Regions from separate parts of the Homo sapiens genome. Here all the other regions are linked to region 2. The links are contacts of gene promoters, found by promoter capture Hi-C in human tissues and cell types (Jung and others, 2019). All regions are on one chromosome and are shown on one strand. Each heading gives the region's core, a stretch centred on a gene start or on the middle of the fragment in contact. The rest is flanking DNA. Distances are from core to core; before and after follow the strand shown.

Region 1 (4,579 bases), core at 52-2,551, 560 kb after region 2:
GCAGTGTTATTTACTCGCCATGGCCCAGAACAAATGTCACTTCCTCTGGCATGCCATCATCAATCCCTTCCTCCTACACAGTCTCGCCGAACATTCTCGCACACCCCTGAGAATCTGCTTCACTCGAATTCTTCAGCTGTGTCTATGCATGGCTGTCTCCTCACCACTCGACAGGGAGCAACTTCAGGGCAGGGACAAGGTCTCATTCTTCTACTGCACCTAGCAAAGTGTCAGGTACATCATAGCATTTGACGAATGATGGATAGATGAGAGGATGGATGGATGGATGGATGCATGGATGATGGATGGACAAAGCTATGAAGAACAAGTGGGACTGAAGCCGATGGAAAATGGACAGGCTGGTTTAAGCAAAGGTGAGCCAGTTGTTAGGAAAGCACTTTTTAAAAGACTAAAAAACAATGACTATGTGTAAAAGACAATGGTGAAGAAGATAACTCGTCTCTTACCTTCATCAAGCAGCCAGCAAACACAAGGAAGCCTTTTGAATGCAGATGCTTGGCCAATGAGAACCCAAATCCAGAGTCACAGCCTGTGACCAGGACAGCTTTGCTGCCAACCTGTTTTACAAGGTCAGATTCCATGTTAGGAACCGGTGGTACAGGGGCAAAGTGACCAGGCCTCTCCACCCTCTGTGCAGTGAGAGTTAGTGCTTCCTGAGTGGCCCAAGCCTGGCCCTCCCTACCTTGTTCTTGTTGTCTGGAGAAGCACCATGGTATAGTGGAAAGGCCAGGTTCTAACCCAGACTCGGCTACCAACCAGCAATGTTGCTTGGGAAAATTACTTCTGCCTTCAGGATCTCATCTACAATCCCCCATGCTACATGTGAGAAACAGAGGTCTTTTTAAAACGCTCAATGTAGCTAGTGATAGAGCTGGAACTGAAACCAGGGCTGAGAGATTCCAGAGTCTAAACTCTTCTTCTTTTTTTTGAGATGGAGTTTGGCTCTTGTTGCCCAGGCTGGAGGGCAATGGCCAGTCTCGGCTCACCGCAAAACCTTCACCTTCCAGGTTCAAGCAGTTCTCCTGCCTCAGCCTCCCAAGTAGCTGGGATTACAGGCATGCACCTCCACGCCCGGCTAATTTTGTATTTTTAGTAGAGATGGGGTTTCTCCATGTTGGCCAGGCTGGTCTTGAACTCCCTACCTTAGTTGATCCACCCACCTCGGCCTCCCAAAGTGCTGGGATTACAGGCGGGAGCCACCGCCCTGGGCCTCCGGAGTCTAAACTCTTAACCCCTAACTTGCTGGGTGGGGCTGGGAGTTCTCGCCCCCCACCTAGGCCTCCAGTGATACCTTCCTGGCTGGGAGGGGCTGGAGTGCCTCATTACTGCTTCCTCCCCACATGGATGGGGGTGTGTGAGCTCATTACTGATGAGGGGCTTTGGGGGAGGGTTAAGTGAGAAAGTGGCTCCCAGTGTCCTGGAAACACTAAGGCCCCACTCTGAGGGTAGCTCAGGGCCTAGGGGCCCAGAAGAAAGGGTTCTGACCATCCAACTGGCTCCCGGGTAGCTGGGCTTCCACTCACCGGCTCCGCCGCACTGGCATAAGTCCGACGGCCAATCGGGATAAAGGAAGTAGAACCAAGCAATAGTGGGCGTCTGCAAGAGAAAAGGAAGCCGTGAGTACAAGGACAGACTAGACAGACCCTCAGCCACACTGGCCTAGAGCAGCACTGGGTGTCTCTCCAGCCCCGGCTCCTGGAGACAGCTTGCTGGTACAACTGAGTAAGAGGCCCTCTTTCCACCAGGGTTGCTGGCTGATAGAAAGTGAGCCAGTATTTGCTATGGCTATGTTTGCCACTGTCCAGGAAGAGCCTTCCTGAGAATAAAGCCAATTCTGAAGCTACTTTTGTTGGGCAGGCTCTGCTAAACCCTGGCCATCCAGTGTCCCACTCCAATAAAGTTCCATTTTCTGCTTTCCAAGATGACATGGATAGGTAATGTTTCAAGCTAATTCAAGTGTGAACTATCCTTGTAGTAGTATAGCTTTGTTAAAGCCTGCTGCAATTTTGATGTCTTAATCCACAGTAGGCTAAGCTTCCTGAGAGTTACTTCAATCATACTTTTTATTTTGAAATAATTGTAGATTCACATGCAATTAAGAAATAATACAGAGAGATGCCAGGTCTTACCTCATTTCCCCTAAGGGTAGTATCTTGCAAAACTGTATTACCATATCACAACCAGGATACTGACACGGATACAATAAAAATACAGAAATTTCCATCACCACAAGGATCCTTCATGTTACCCGTTTATAGCCACACCTACTTTCTTCCCACCCGGCTCCATCTTTAACCACAAATCTGTTCCCCATCTCTGTAATTTTAGAATTTCAAGAATGTTATGTAAATGGCATCATACAGTATGTATCCTTCAGGGGCTGGCTTTTTTCATTCAACATAATTCTCTGGAGATTCATCCAGATTGTTATGTATCAATAATTTGCTCCTTGTTATTGCTAGGTAGTGCTCCATGACACAGGGGTATGACAATTTGCTTAACTATTTACCTACTGAAGGACAGCTGAGTTGTTTCCTGTTTGGGCATATTATGAATAAAGCTGCTTGAACATTCCTACACAGGTTTTTGCGCAAACGTTGAGTTTTCATTTCTCTTGGGTAGGTGCCCAGGGGTGTAATTGCTGGGTCATATGGTAGTTGCAGGTTTAGTTTTTTAAGAAACTGACAAACTGTTTATGAAAGTGGCTATAGTACGCTACAGCCCCAGTGGCAGTGTCTGAACAACCCAGTTTCCCCACAGCCTTGTCGGCATTTGGTGGTGTCACTATTTTCTAGTTTAGCCATGCTGAAAACTGTATCATGATATTTCGCTGTGGTTTTAATCTGCATTTCCCTAATGGCTAATGATGTTGAACATCTTTTCATGTTTATTTGTCACCTGTCTTAGTCTGTTTGGGCTGCTATAACAAAATATCATAGACCGGGTGGCTTACCAACAACAGACTTATATTCCTTACAGTTCTGGAAGCTGGGGAGTTGAAGTGCAAAGTGCCAGCAGACTGTGTTTGGTGAGGGCCCACTTTCTTCATAGACAGATGTCTTCTCACTGTAACCTCACATGGCAAAGGTCTCTTTTATAAAGACACTAATCCCATCCATGAGGACTCCACCTTTATGACCTAATCACTTCCCAGGGCCCCTGCCTCCTAATACCAATACCTTGGGGGTTAGGATTTCAACACAGGAATTTGAGGAGAATGCAAACATTCGGACCATAGCACCCTATGTTTGGTAAAATGCCTCTTCATGTCTTTTGCCCATATTCTATTGAATCGTTCATTCTTCTACCCCGTTGAATGTTGAGAATTCTTCAGATGTCCTAGCTGCTAGTCCTTGGTTACATATGTGGTAGGCAAAATTTTTCTCCTAGCCTATGACGTGCCTTTTTATCCTCTGTAGCAGGGTCTACTGCAGGGGCAAAAGTATTTCACTTGGACTCGGAATCAGGAAACCAGGGGTTGTAACCCAGACTCTGCCACCAACCAACAACGTTGCTTAGAGAAATTACTTCTGCCTTCAGGATCTCAGTGTCCTCGTCTACAATCATCCATGCACCACGTGGGACAACAGAGGAATTTTCAATGCCCAATGTAGTTAGTGATAGAGCTAACTAGTGAAACCAAGGCTGAGAGAGTCCAGAGTCTAAACTCTTAACCCCTAAATAAAGTCTAGTATTTTCCTATTATGCGGCATGCTTTTGATGTCAAGTCTCAGAGCTCTTTGCCCCCAGGACCCAAAGATTTTCTTCTATGTTCTTTTCTAAAAGTTTTATAGTTTTGGCTGGGATGGTGGCTCATGCCTGTAATCCCAGCGCTTTGGGAGGCTGAGGTGGGCAGATTGCTTGAGCTCAGGAGTTCGAGAACAGCCCGGGCAACATGGCGAAACCCCATCTCTACAAAAAATACGAAAATTAGTCAGGTGTGGTGGCTCACGCCTTTAAGTCCCAGCTACTTGGAAGGCTGAGGCAGGAAGATCAACTGAGCCCAGGAGGCAGAGGTTGCAATGAGCTGAGATTGCACCACTGCACTCCAGCCTGGGGGACTGAGGGAGACCCTGTCTCAAAAAAAAAAAAAGTTTTATAGTTTTATGTTTTACTTCTTAAGTCTATGATCCATTAATTTTTGTATAAGACGTCAGACTTAGGTCTAAGTTTTGTGTCCATTTGCTCCAGCGCCATTTTTTGAAAACGTTATCTTTCCTCTATTGAATTGCTTTTGCACTTTTGTCAAAAATTGGTTGGGCATATTTGGGTGGGCCTATTTCTGGATTTTCTATTTTGATTCATTGATATATGTGCTGCTACTTTATTTTTCTTCTTCAAAATTCTTTTAGCTATTCTATTTCCTTTGCCTTTCCATATAAATTTTAGAGTAATCTTGTCTTCATCTATAAAAAATATGACTGGGATTTTTATAGAAAGTGTGCTAAACCTGTATATCAATTTGGGGAAAGTTGGCATCTTTACTTTGTTGAGTCTTCCAATTCCTGAGTACAGTATGGGGTTTCCATTTACATAGATCTTTGATTTCTTTCATCAG
Region 2 (4,339 bases), core at 149-2,648:
GGGCCCAAGGTTCGGCCCCTTTGTCTGAATCTGGCATTTGGAGCAGGCTTTAAGACTTCGGGAAAAGCCGGGCCCCTGTGCAACCACCAAAGGCTGCTTCTCCCGCCCTCAGGACTAAGATCTTGTTCCAGTCCTCCAGTCCTCGGGGTCTACTCCAGGGGTACAAGGTGAGAGTGGCTCTCCAGAGTCCATTTGCCTTTTGGTGCCGCACTGCATCCTCACTTTGACCCTGAGCGCTGCAGTAAGCCCTGCAGGGTGCTCCACCTTGAAGCACGGGAAGATCTGATGCTGGCCGCCTTCTTCCTTCGGTTGCCTGAAAGGGCCCGTGTTTATCCTTCGCTTCACAGAGAACGCAACACACAACATTAAACACACATAGAGAGTGAAAGAGAACAAGGCATCTTCATCAAGGAGGGCGCACCATTTAACCACCCGCGACCTTGCAGTGCGCCTCTGCAAAGTGGGGACTCCGCTCTGTAGCAGGAGATGGGGGTGTTGACGATTTTGAAAGTAGTTCTCAGTTTTCCGAGGCAAAGGTGTCTGGGGCTGACGAATGACTTTTGAGAAGAAGGAATGATGAGAAATGTCCTCATTACAGAACTTTCCCGGCCACACTGTGAGTCCCACGCAAAGACCCCATGACCACCAACCGGAGCGCTGGGTGCTCCCTGGCAGGGTCACCTTTGCTTTTTGCGCGCCCCCATGCCACCCCTGGGGCAGGAGGCCATCCTCTTATCCTGGGAGTGCAGGCCTGGCCCGAAGTGCAGCCCCCGAGGCCGGGAGCCGAGATTCTTCTCGGCTTCGTGCTCAGAGCTTTGCAGCGTGGCATGGTTTCCTCCTCTTGCCCTGTTGCTGTTTCATACCAGGGGGAACTGAGACCCAGTCGGGTTATGGGCCTCCCTGAGAACACTGGCCTCTAGCAGAAGCAGATTCAACCCCAGGCCTCAACCTGCGCCCAGACCCGTGCCCTGGAGTGGAGTTTACCCACTGCCGCCCTTCCTGGGCAAATGTCACCGCTGCCTCCGTCCCCCTAGGTCCGGGGCGGGTCAGTGCTTCGAGCCAGCGGACCCCGGCCTAGGGACAGGTGCCTGCGAGAATGCGGGGGGCGGCCCCCAGCTCCCCTGCCCTCCTCCCTAGAGGCTGGGCCTGCTGGTCTCCCGGCTGCGCGCAAGGTGGGAACGCGGCCGACTTGGTCCGCTCGCCCTCCCCGCACCCGCTCCTCTGGAGCCGCTGGGGCTGCGCACCGACTCACCCGCGCGGCCTCCGGGCTGCGCCTTCAGCGCTGGCGGCGTCCTGCCCGGCGAGGGCCAGGGTCCCAGGAGGCCCCGGAGGCGGCGGGACCGCAGGGCGGAGGGGAGGCCGTGGGAGCGGCCGGGCGCGCCTCAGCAGCGCGGAGACTGGGGCCGCCGCCGCCGGCGCAGGGCGGGCCGGGAGGGAGGAGGAGCGCGCGGGCGGGGCCGCCGTGTACGTCCCCGCGCTCCCGCCCGGCCTGGCCCCGCGGTCCCGGAGCGAGCTGGGGCCGCGCTGGGGAGGGTCCTGGGGGCGCCGCCGTCCCTCGGGCCGGGCAACGCCGGGCGGGGACCGGTCTCGCCCCGCCGCGCTCGGGCTCCCTCCCCGGCGGCCCCTCCTCGGCGAACAGCCTTTCGGCGCGGGGGGCTGTTAAACCAGACACCCCAGGCCACACTCCTCTCGTTCGAAATGACCATTTCGGGGTTCTCCGTGGCGGGGAGCTCCGCCGCCGCCGTCCCCCTTCCACGCGCGGGAGGTCGGCGAGGGCAGGGCGGGGACCCGGAGTGCGGCCCCCGGTCCTGCTTCGTGGCCCGAAACGCCTCGCAATGGAGTCACTCATGACAGGGGACTCAGCGCACGGGGCGGCTGCTGAGCCCCGCAGCGATCGGCGGGCGTGAGGGGTTCCCCGGCGTGGTTGCCCGGGAGCCTGTCAGCCCCAGCAGCCCTGACAGGAAAGGGAAGTCGAGAGGAGGCTGAGCGAACGGCCGCCACCCCCGCGGGACGCTGACCCGGGCGGACCCCGAGGGGCCTCTCCCCGCGCCAGAGCGCGGCGTGCGCGGGGAAGCGCGACCCACCGGGGTCGGCGACGGCGCGCGGGGCGGGCGCGGCGGTTCCCTCTCCTCCGCCCGTGCCCGTGGGATCGGCGGGCTTGTCGGGCTGGGAGAGCCTCGTGGAACCCGGGCATCCGGGCAGCAGCGGCCTCCGAGCCACTGTGGAGGCGCCCGGGGTCGGCACGGCGAGGCCGACGGGGACCTGACACGGTCACGCGGCGCCGGGGAGCAGGTTCGAGTGGCCGGGCGTGGCCGTGCTGCCCCTCCGCGTTCCGCAGGCGGCGACGGGCGAGCGGCCCTAGCGGGCTGCAGGGAGGACGCCGCGTGGACGGAGAGCCGGCGCCCGGGGGCCAGATCCCCTCCCGGGACGGGGCGCCAGGTCCCCGCGAGCTGCGGCGCGACGCGCGGGCACCCGTGTCCCACCCGGTGGCCTCGCCGCTGCGGGCTGCGCTGAGAGCGGGGTGGCGCGACGCGGTCCCTCACCGCAGGGGGAAGACGGCACCACCGCGTCCCGGCCGCTGGAGCTTCCCGCCCGCGCCGCCGGCCCGACGCTGCCCCCTGGCGGGAGAGCGCTGCAGGGGCCCCGGCGAGGCCGCAGGACCCGACCTCCCCGCCGGCCTCGCACTCCCGCGCCGCCGCCGAGGGTCGGCAGCCGGATCGCCCTCCGTGCCCCATAGCACCCCTCACACTAAAAACGACGACTTTATTAAGATGTGAGGTATTCTATACATACGATAAATACCAGGAAATTTAAGTACAGTACATGGAAGTATACAGTTCCATGAATTTTTTCCTTTATTTTTTAGATACAGGGTCTCTGTCGCCCAGGCTGGAGTGCGGTGGCACGATCTCGGCTCACCGCAGCCTTGAACTTCTAGGCTCCAGCGATCCTCCTGCCTCAGCCTCCCGAGCAGCTGGGACCACAGGCCCCGCCACCATGCCCGGCTCAGTTCCATGACTTCTGACACGCGAAACCACCAGGCTAGTCTCCCCCCGAGTTCAAGAAGTCCTCTCCTCCCAAAAGTACCCTCCTGCCCCTCTGCAGCTAACCCCTCACCTCCCCTCCGCCCTGGTTCCAGACAACTGCTCCTCTGATTTCTGTCACTGCCCTTTGCCTCTCTCGCAATTGCATGCAAGGAGAACCATTCACCGTGTGGTCTTTTGTGCCTGGCTTTCTTCGCTTGGCACCATGCAGCTGAGCGTCGCCCGTGTGGCGTGTGTGTGTTGTATTTTCCTCTACCTTGGTCTTGAGACCTCCCTGGAGAGCCACTGTAAAGGCCAACTCTGCCCTGACAGGGCTCCTGGGATTTGGGCGTGGGTGTTTGCCGTGGGCCTTTCATGGGGCACCTCTGTATCCTGGCTGACCTGTGACCGGGTGTCCCTCTCCCAGGAGACATATTTATCCTGGCAGATCTCCTTGTGCTTCTTGTCTGACCTGTATCTAGTTTATTCCTACCAAGATAGCTGCTCTCTAGGGAAAGCCCTGACCAGGGAAAACGTTACGTTTGAGCGTCTCAGTCAGGCATGACACAGAGCAGGCAACACAACGAAACACAGGAACTAACAGAAGTGGTCCTATTACTTACAGATCCACAGGGGAAGAGGGCACACTGAGGGCCGTCGGGAATGTCTTGGGGACACTGTACACAATCGTTGTGGGGGTGGGGGGAGCCAGAGAGAGACGGACCTGTGGGCTGAGGCTTTTATTGGAGTGCAGGGCATTACTCAAGCAGTTTTCCCAAGGGGAGCTCTAATTGGTTCACCTAGAGGAGCGAACTGGAGTCCTGTGGGGCCACCTTGTGACTTAGGGGTGGTCACTGAGACATATCTGCATAGTCCATGCAGGGTGTGGGCGTCAGTGGGGTGAGTCTAGTTGGTTGTATGTATACATCCCACAAGGAGGCAGTTACCAGGAGGTGGCTACCTAGGACCAGATATCTGGACGGAATGTGTTGAGATACTGTTTCCAGCAGAGAGCTGGAAACTGTATCCAAGGTGACTAAGCCCTGCTTCTAGTATGAAATTGTTAACCCTATATTCAAAATGGATACTGAAGCAACCTAAAATTTCAGGTATTTACTAAAGTGTGTATCAAGTTCCCTCCTTACCACTGGTGAGTAGTATTCCATTGTATGGATATGCCACAGGCTGTTTGTCCATTTGGACATTGATGGATGGACTAAAGTTGGCCAAGCTGGGCTGGTGGGGAGGCACCCTCTCAGGACCCCAAAGGAGGATGCGGGGTTGTTGTTGGATGTCTGGGTTGTTTCCAGTTTGAA
Region 3 (4,767 bases), core at 388-2,887, 540 kb after region 2:
CACAGGTTTGCAGAGCCAGGCCCTGTTCGAAATACAGGCAGTGAACAGACCTCACAAATGGGGAGTCTTTGTCAGACCCCCTGCCATGGGTGGCAAGGGTGCAGACCTAGCAGCTTGTGACAGGCGGGGCCAGGCTGGCTGTCACCTGCTCACACAGCCTCTTGGCCCCGGGTGGAATGCTAAGCACAGCAGGTGCTCTGTAACAAGGCACTGTCAGGCGCATCTTGCAAGAAGCCCTTGCCCAGCCTCCAACCATCAGGGGATGGGTTTGTGCTGGCTGGAGTCACCAGACCATAGGTCCGCACAGGCAAAGGCCTCCTTCCTACTTACTCTGACAAGAAGGAGCGGCTCTCTGCCAGCAGACAAGCAGTGAGGGTCTAGGTGCCTGGTGACCCCAACTGGCTTTGCTTCCAGGGCTGTTGCGAGCCACAGTGTTATGTGATAGTGAAGAGTGCCACTCAGGAGACTTTTGTTCTGGCCCTGGTCCTGCCGTGGATTTACTGTGACACTGAGTGAGTCACTTTCCTTCTTTGGGCCTCAGTTATGTCATCTATAAAATGGGAATATACACCTGTTTTGTCCTCTCACTCTTTTTTTGTTTTGTTGTTGTTGTTTTGTTTTTTGAGACAGAGCCTCACTCTGTTGCCCAGGCTGGAGTGCAGTGGCATGATCTCGGCTCACTACAACCTCTGCCTCTGGGTTCAGTCGATTCTCCCTGCCTCACCCTCCCGAGTAGCTGGGGTTACAGGCGCCCACCACCACGCCTGGCTAATTTTTGTGCTTTTAGTAGAGACAGGGTTTCACCACGTTGGCCAGGCTGGTCTTGAACTCCTGACCTCAGGCGATCCGACCGCCTGGGCCTCCCAAAATGCTGGGATGACAGGTGTGAGCCACCGCGCCCGGCCACGCACTCTGGTAAAGACGAAAACTACGTCCTGCGCCCCGGTAGGTTCTAAGCTGCCGGAAAGTGAATGGTGAATATGAGGTTTGAGTTAGCACTGGAGTTATTTGGAGGGATGGTAGCCTGGGCTTTTCAATCACTGGAAACGATTAAAAGCCAGAACAACCTGCACAGGCCGGCCCAGCAGTTCTAGCTTACTCAGAAGATCCCAGTAGACGCACATGCAGCTTCTCTGACGTTCGGGTCTGCTGATGGGGACCCAGAGTATGTGGCCCTCCTTCCTCTAGTTCCCAGGCAGGGACGCACACGTGCAACTCCAAGGCTCCATCTATTTTCCTTTAATAAACTTCAGCACGGACACAAATTCGCCCAACATGTAAAAGTGCAATTCCGAAAGGATCCTGCTAGAACAAGGTCCACGGTACAAAAGCATCCTATGGTTATGTAACTGCAGCGGCCACCAAGCGTCCCCCTCTGGGCTCTGGAGGGTTTCGGCCCTGCCTGCCTCCCCCCCTCCTCCTGGGGCAGCTGGGACAGGGGACCCCTGTTTGAAGACAGCGGGGACAACGGCCCGGGAGGCAGCTGAATTGCCCATTGTGAGGCCCTTCTTCCTTGGCACTGCCTGAACCCCGTAGCCCACTCCGGCTGCCCGGGCTCTTCTGCCTTCTCCTGGCACCAGCCTCCGGGCCCGGGCCAGCTGCTAGGAGAGCGAGAACACTGTTTCTGAAGGGTGCTGCTTGCTTCTTTGTTCCCGGTTTCCGAAGCGCGAATCCCGAACGCCGTGAGAAACCTCAGGCTCGGGCGGCAGCGCGGGAGTCTGGGGCGCTGGAGGCCGGCGCCGGCTGCGGAGGAGGAGCGCCCTCTAGCGGCAGGTCCGCCCAGGGAGAGGCGGAAACGCGGAGTCTGATTCGAAGGCGGGCACTGGGGACCCTGCCCCGGGCCGAAAGCCCCCTGGAGGACAGTGGTGTTTGGCTTCGGTCCCAACATACAGGCCCTGGGCAGTCGCAGGGATGGCAGCTTTCAAACTGAAACCCAAGAAGTGATCATGCAGACCCTGCCTCAAGTGGCATCACTTCTTAATTGAAAAGAGGCCGAGGCGAGGCGGGAATGAAGGCCACGCTGAAGCCCTGCAGAACAGGGGTGTGTGTGTGTGTGTGTGTGTGTGTGTGTGTGTGTGTGTGTGTGTGTGTGTGTGTGTGTGTGTGTGTGTGTACATGTGTGTAAGGTGTGTGTGTGTGTGTGTGTGTGTGTGTGTGTGTACATGTGTGTAAGCACCACGTGAGGCAAGCAGGGACCCCAAATCCACTGCTAGGGGAGATGCCACAGTGCCCTGCCATGGCACCACTGCTCGTGCCAAGCCTGCCCCATCGACACCGGCCCCACCCAAGGCAAAACCAAGCAGACCCAAACCAGTAACAACTTATCCCCTTAGCCAGAGAGCACCTCCACACAAGTCTATCCTGAGTCCTAAAAGAGGATGGAAAAATCTCAAGTAAAAATCTCATGCCTGTAATCCCAGCACTTTGGGAGGCCAAGGCAGGCGGATCACTTGAAGTCGGGAGTTCGGGACCAGCCTAGCCAACATGGTGAAACCCCATCTCTACTAAAAATACAAAAATTAGCCCGGCATGGTGGTGGGTGCCTATAACCCCAGCTACTTGGAAGGCTGAGGCAGGAGAACCGCTTGAACCAGGGAGGCGGAGGTTGCAGTGAGCGGAGATGGTGCCATTGCACTCCAGCCTAGGGGACTGAGCAAGACTGTGTCTGGAAAAACAAAAATCTCCAGAAACATTCCCACCCCCTCCATACAGCCAGCTCTGAGTCACTGGCTGCTGGCTGGCCAGTCACACAGCACCATGGACATGCAGAGGTACCAGTGGGCACTTGGTGTGTGCTGCCCAGATGAGGACACAGAGTTAGTCAGAAGATTCTCGGGCAAATGGATCCAAAACAGTCCTGGAATGCAAATGTGAAGTATTTCCACAGCCGTGGCAGGAACACATAACTGGCACTATTTATAAGCGATAAAAGGGTTATTTCATGCATCCTCTTTAAGCTGCAAATGCTTCATTTACAAAAGAAAAAAACCTGTCCTTTTCATTCATGAGACTGGCTTAAGGATCAAATGAGATCTGTTTTTAATATAAAGATGTTTTCTTAAAATCTCTGTATGAAATTATCTCCGGAGAGATAGATTCACCATGTTTGCCCTGAGATTTAGAGGCCTCTGCCTGCCACTCCACACCCTGTTTGTGAAGGCCCAAGTCACTCACTATGCAAAGAAGTCATTCCCTCTAGTTAGTGTTAAAACCAGTTATGGGTCTTCCTGGCATGGTGGATAATCCACACGTGGATAATCAAGAGTTGACTATATGGGTTCCTCCCTCCCCTCCCCTTCCACCAGGGATCCCTGACAGAGGCCACAGCGAGACTCTTCAGCGGATGTAGATCATGTCGGAGATGGCTCCAGGCAAGTGGGTCATGATCTGCATTCGCAGCCACCAGTAGTAGTCCATGGGGTGGTAGCGGGTGTAGGGGGTGGTGGCGGTCAGGGCGTGTGTGACAGCATCGATGACAGGGGACGTGTCTGTGGAGCCACTGCTGCAGTAGGTCTCCATCTTGGCGATCTTTTCATCAAAGTACTTCTTGCCGTAGTCCTTGCGCACGACCTCAGGCAGCTCCTCCCACATCTTCTTGGCGATGGCCTGAATGCTCTCAGGGCTGTAAAGGCTGGTGGCAGCGATGAAGTTGCCGGGCTCCACCACGCTGACCTTCACGCCCAGGGGGTACATCTCATAGCGCAGGCAGTCCGAGAAAGCCTCTACCCCGAACTTGGTGATGCAGTACGGGGAGCGGGCCGGGTTGGCCATGCGGCCCAGCATGCTGCTGATATTGACGACGCGGCCTACAGAGGGAGACAGAGGTACCTGCTAAGCCGTTACTGCCCTATGACACAGCGGGCAGAAGTCTGGCATGTCTCTAGAGGCTTGGCTGGAACCACTTCTGAGCCACCCAGGAGCCTTCTCAGTCAATAGGCAAGGCCAGCTCAGGCCCACGCATCAGCATCGGCACCCCTGGTCTTCCCTGGGAACCTGGCTGTGCCAGGCAGGACAGGGGAGGACAAGTGAGTGAGAAGCAGCAGGGCACAGTGTAATGGGCAACACGCAACTGACTCAAAAACCAGATCAAGCCCGATGCGGTGATAATTTGGGGTGAAAACACGAGGGGAGAAGTGGGAGGCGAGACAGCTGTCTGTGTGGATCTGAGCTTTCACTATAGGCAAGGTCTGGTGCTGGTGAGGGAGAAATACAGCCTGAAAGCTTCCCCTTCCCCTTATGGAGCTTAAAGTCCAGCTCCAGTAGTACGACGTGCAGATAAGTAGCACACTAGGGCCAAGTGTCTAGCCACTGACAGCAGCCCTGGCGATGGGGGTTGGAGTGCAGACGAGGAAGTACCTGGGGCTGCAGCTGGGAGGGAGCCCCGGGACAGCCCTGAAAGAGGACAGGACCCGTGCTGTTAGGCCCAACTCCCCAACTCCATTCCACCCTGGTAGGGTGGAGCCTGGGTGGAGACCAGGACCGCCTGGCAAACAGAGCAGCAGGCAGGGGCAGGGGCAGGATTTCTGAACCTGACTTCAGGGCTAGGATATGAGGAGAGAGTCCTGGGCACTGGGAGAGTGTGGTGATCCCCCTCCAAAGGCCACAGGCCCAGCCTGGGGGCATCAGGGGCCTCCCACAGCTCCTCCTGGCCCTGGGAACAGAGGGGTTGGAAGTGGATTGCATTTGGCCCAGCCCGGGAAGCCGAGGCGGATCTGGGACCAGTTTTCCTGGGAGGGAACTCAGCCCATCCAGGTGTGTCCCGGGGAG

Evidence for each region. The method cuts DNA at HindIII sites, captures the fragments that hold promoters and counts their contacts. A contact is called where the count stands out against the background at its distance.
Region 1: a contact is called between a fragment that was not itself captured here and the fragment with the promoter of PIGZ in region 2, in 2 of the 25 tissues and cell types used here (dorsolateral prefrontal cortex and lymphoblastoid cells).
Region 3: a fragment that was not itself captured here is called in contact with the fragment with the promoter of PIGZ in region 2 in 1 of the 25 tissues and cell types used here (dorsolateral prefrontal cortex).

The regions. Positions count from the first base shown.
Region 1 is chr3:197,531,945-197,536,523 of GRCh38, forward strand. BDH1 (3-hydroxybutyrate dehydrogenase 1) reads right to left here. Exons shown (of 8, transcript NM_203314.3): 4 at 1,545-1,617; 5 at 468-578. Among named protein-coding and RNA genes, the nearest start is that of BDH1, 22 kb to the right of the region's middle. The HindIII fragment of the contact is 6,211 bases long and covers 1-4,407 here.
Region 2 is chr3:196,967,435-196,971,773 of GRCh38, forward strand. PIGZ (phosphatidylinositol glycan anchor biosynthesis class Z (Gwada blood group)) reads right to left here and starts at 1,399. Exons shown (of 3, transcript NM_025163.4): 1 at 1,253-1,399. It overlaps LOC124906255 (collagen alpha-1(I) chain-like), which reads left to right and starts at 1,699. Exons shown (of 3, transcript XM_047449439.1): 1 at 1,699-1,815; 2 at 1,962-2,778; 3 at 2,867-4,339. The coding sequence starts at 1,699. The coding sequence ends at 2,777. RefSeq lists enhancers at 976-1,511, 1,512-2,047, 2,048-2,583 and silencers at 1,119-1,568, 1,629-1,838, 1,849-1,908, 2,019-2,078, 2,189-2,508 and 1 more. The HindIII fragment of the contact is 30,202 bases long and covers 1-4,339 here.
Region 3 is chr3:197,508,559-197,513,325 of GRCh38, forward strand. BDH1 (3-hydroxybutyrate dehydrogenase 1) reads right to left here. Exons shown (of 8, transcript NM_203314.3): 8 at 1,225-3,806. The coding sequence ends at 3,337. LINC02012 (long intergenic non-protein coding RNA 2012) reads right to left here and starts at 1,103. Exons shown (of 1, transcript NR_145451.1): 1 at 1-1,103. RefSeq lists an enhancer at 3,194-3,731. The HindIII fragment of the contact is 6,420 bases long and covers 1-4,767 here.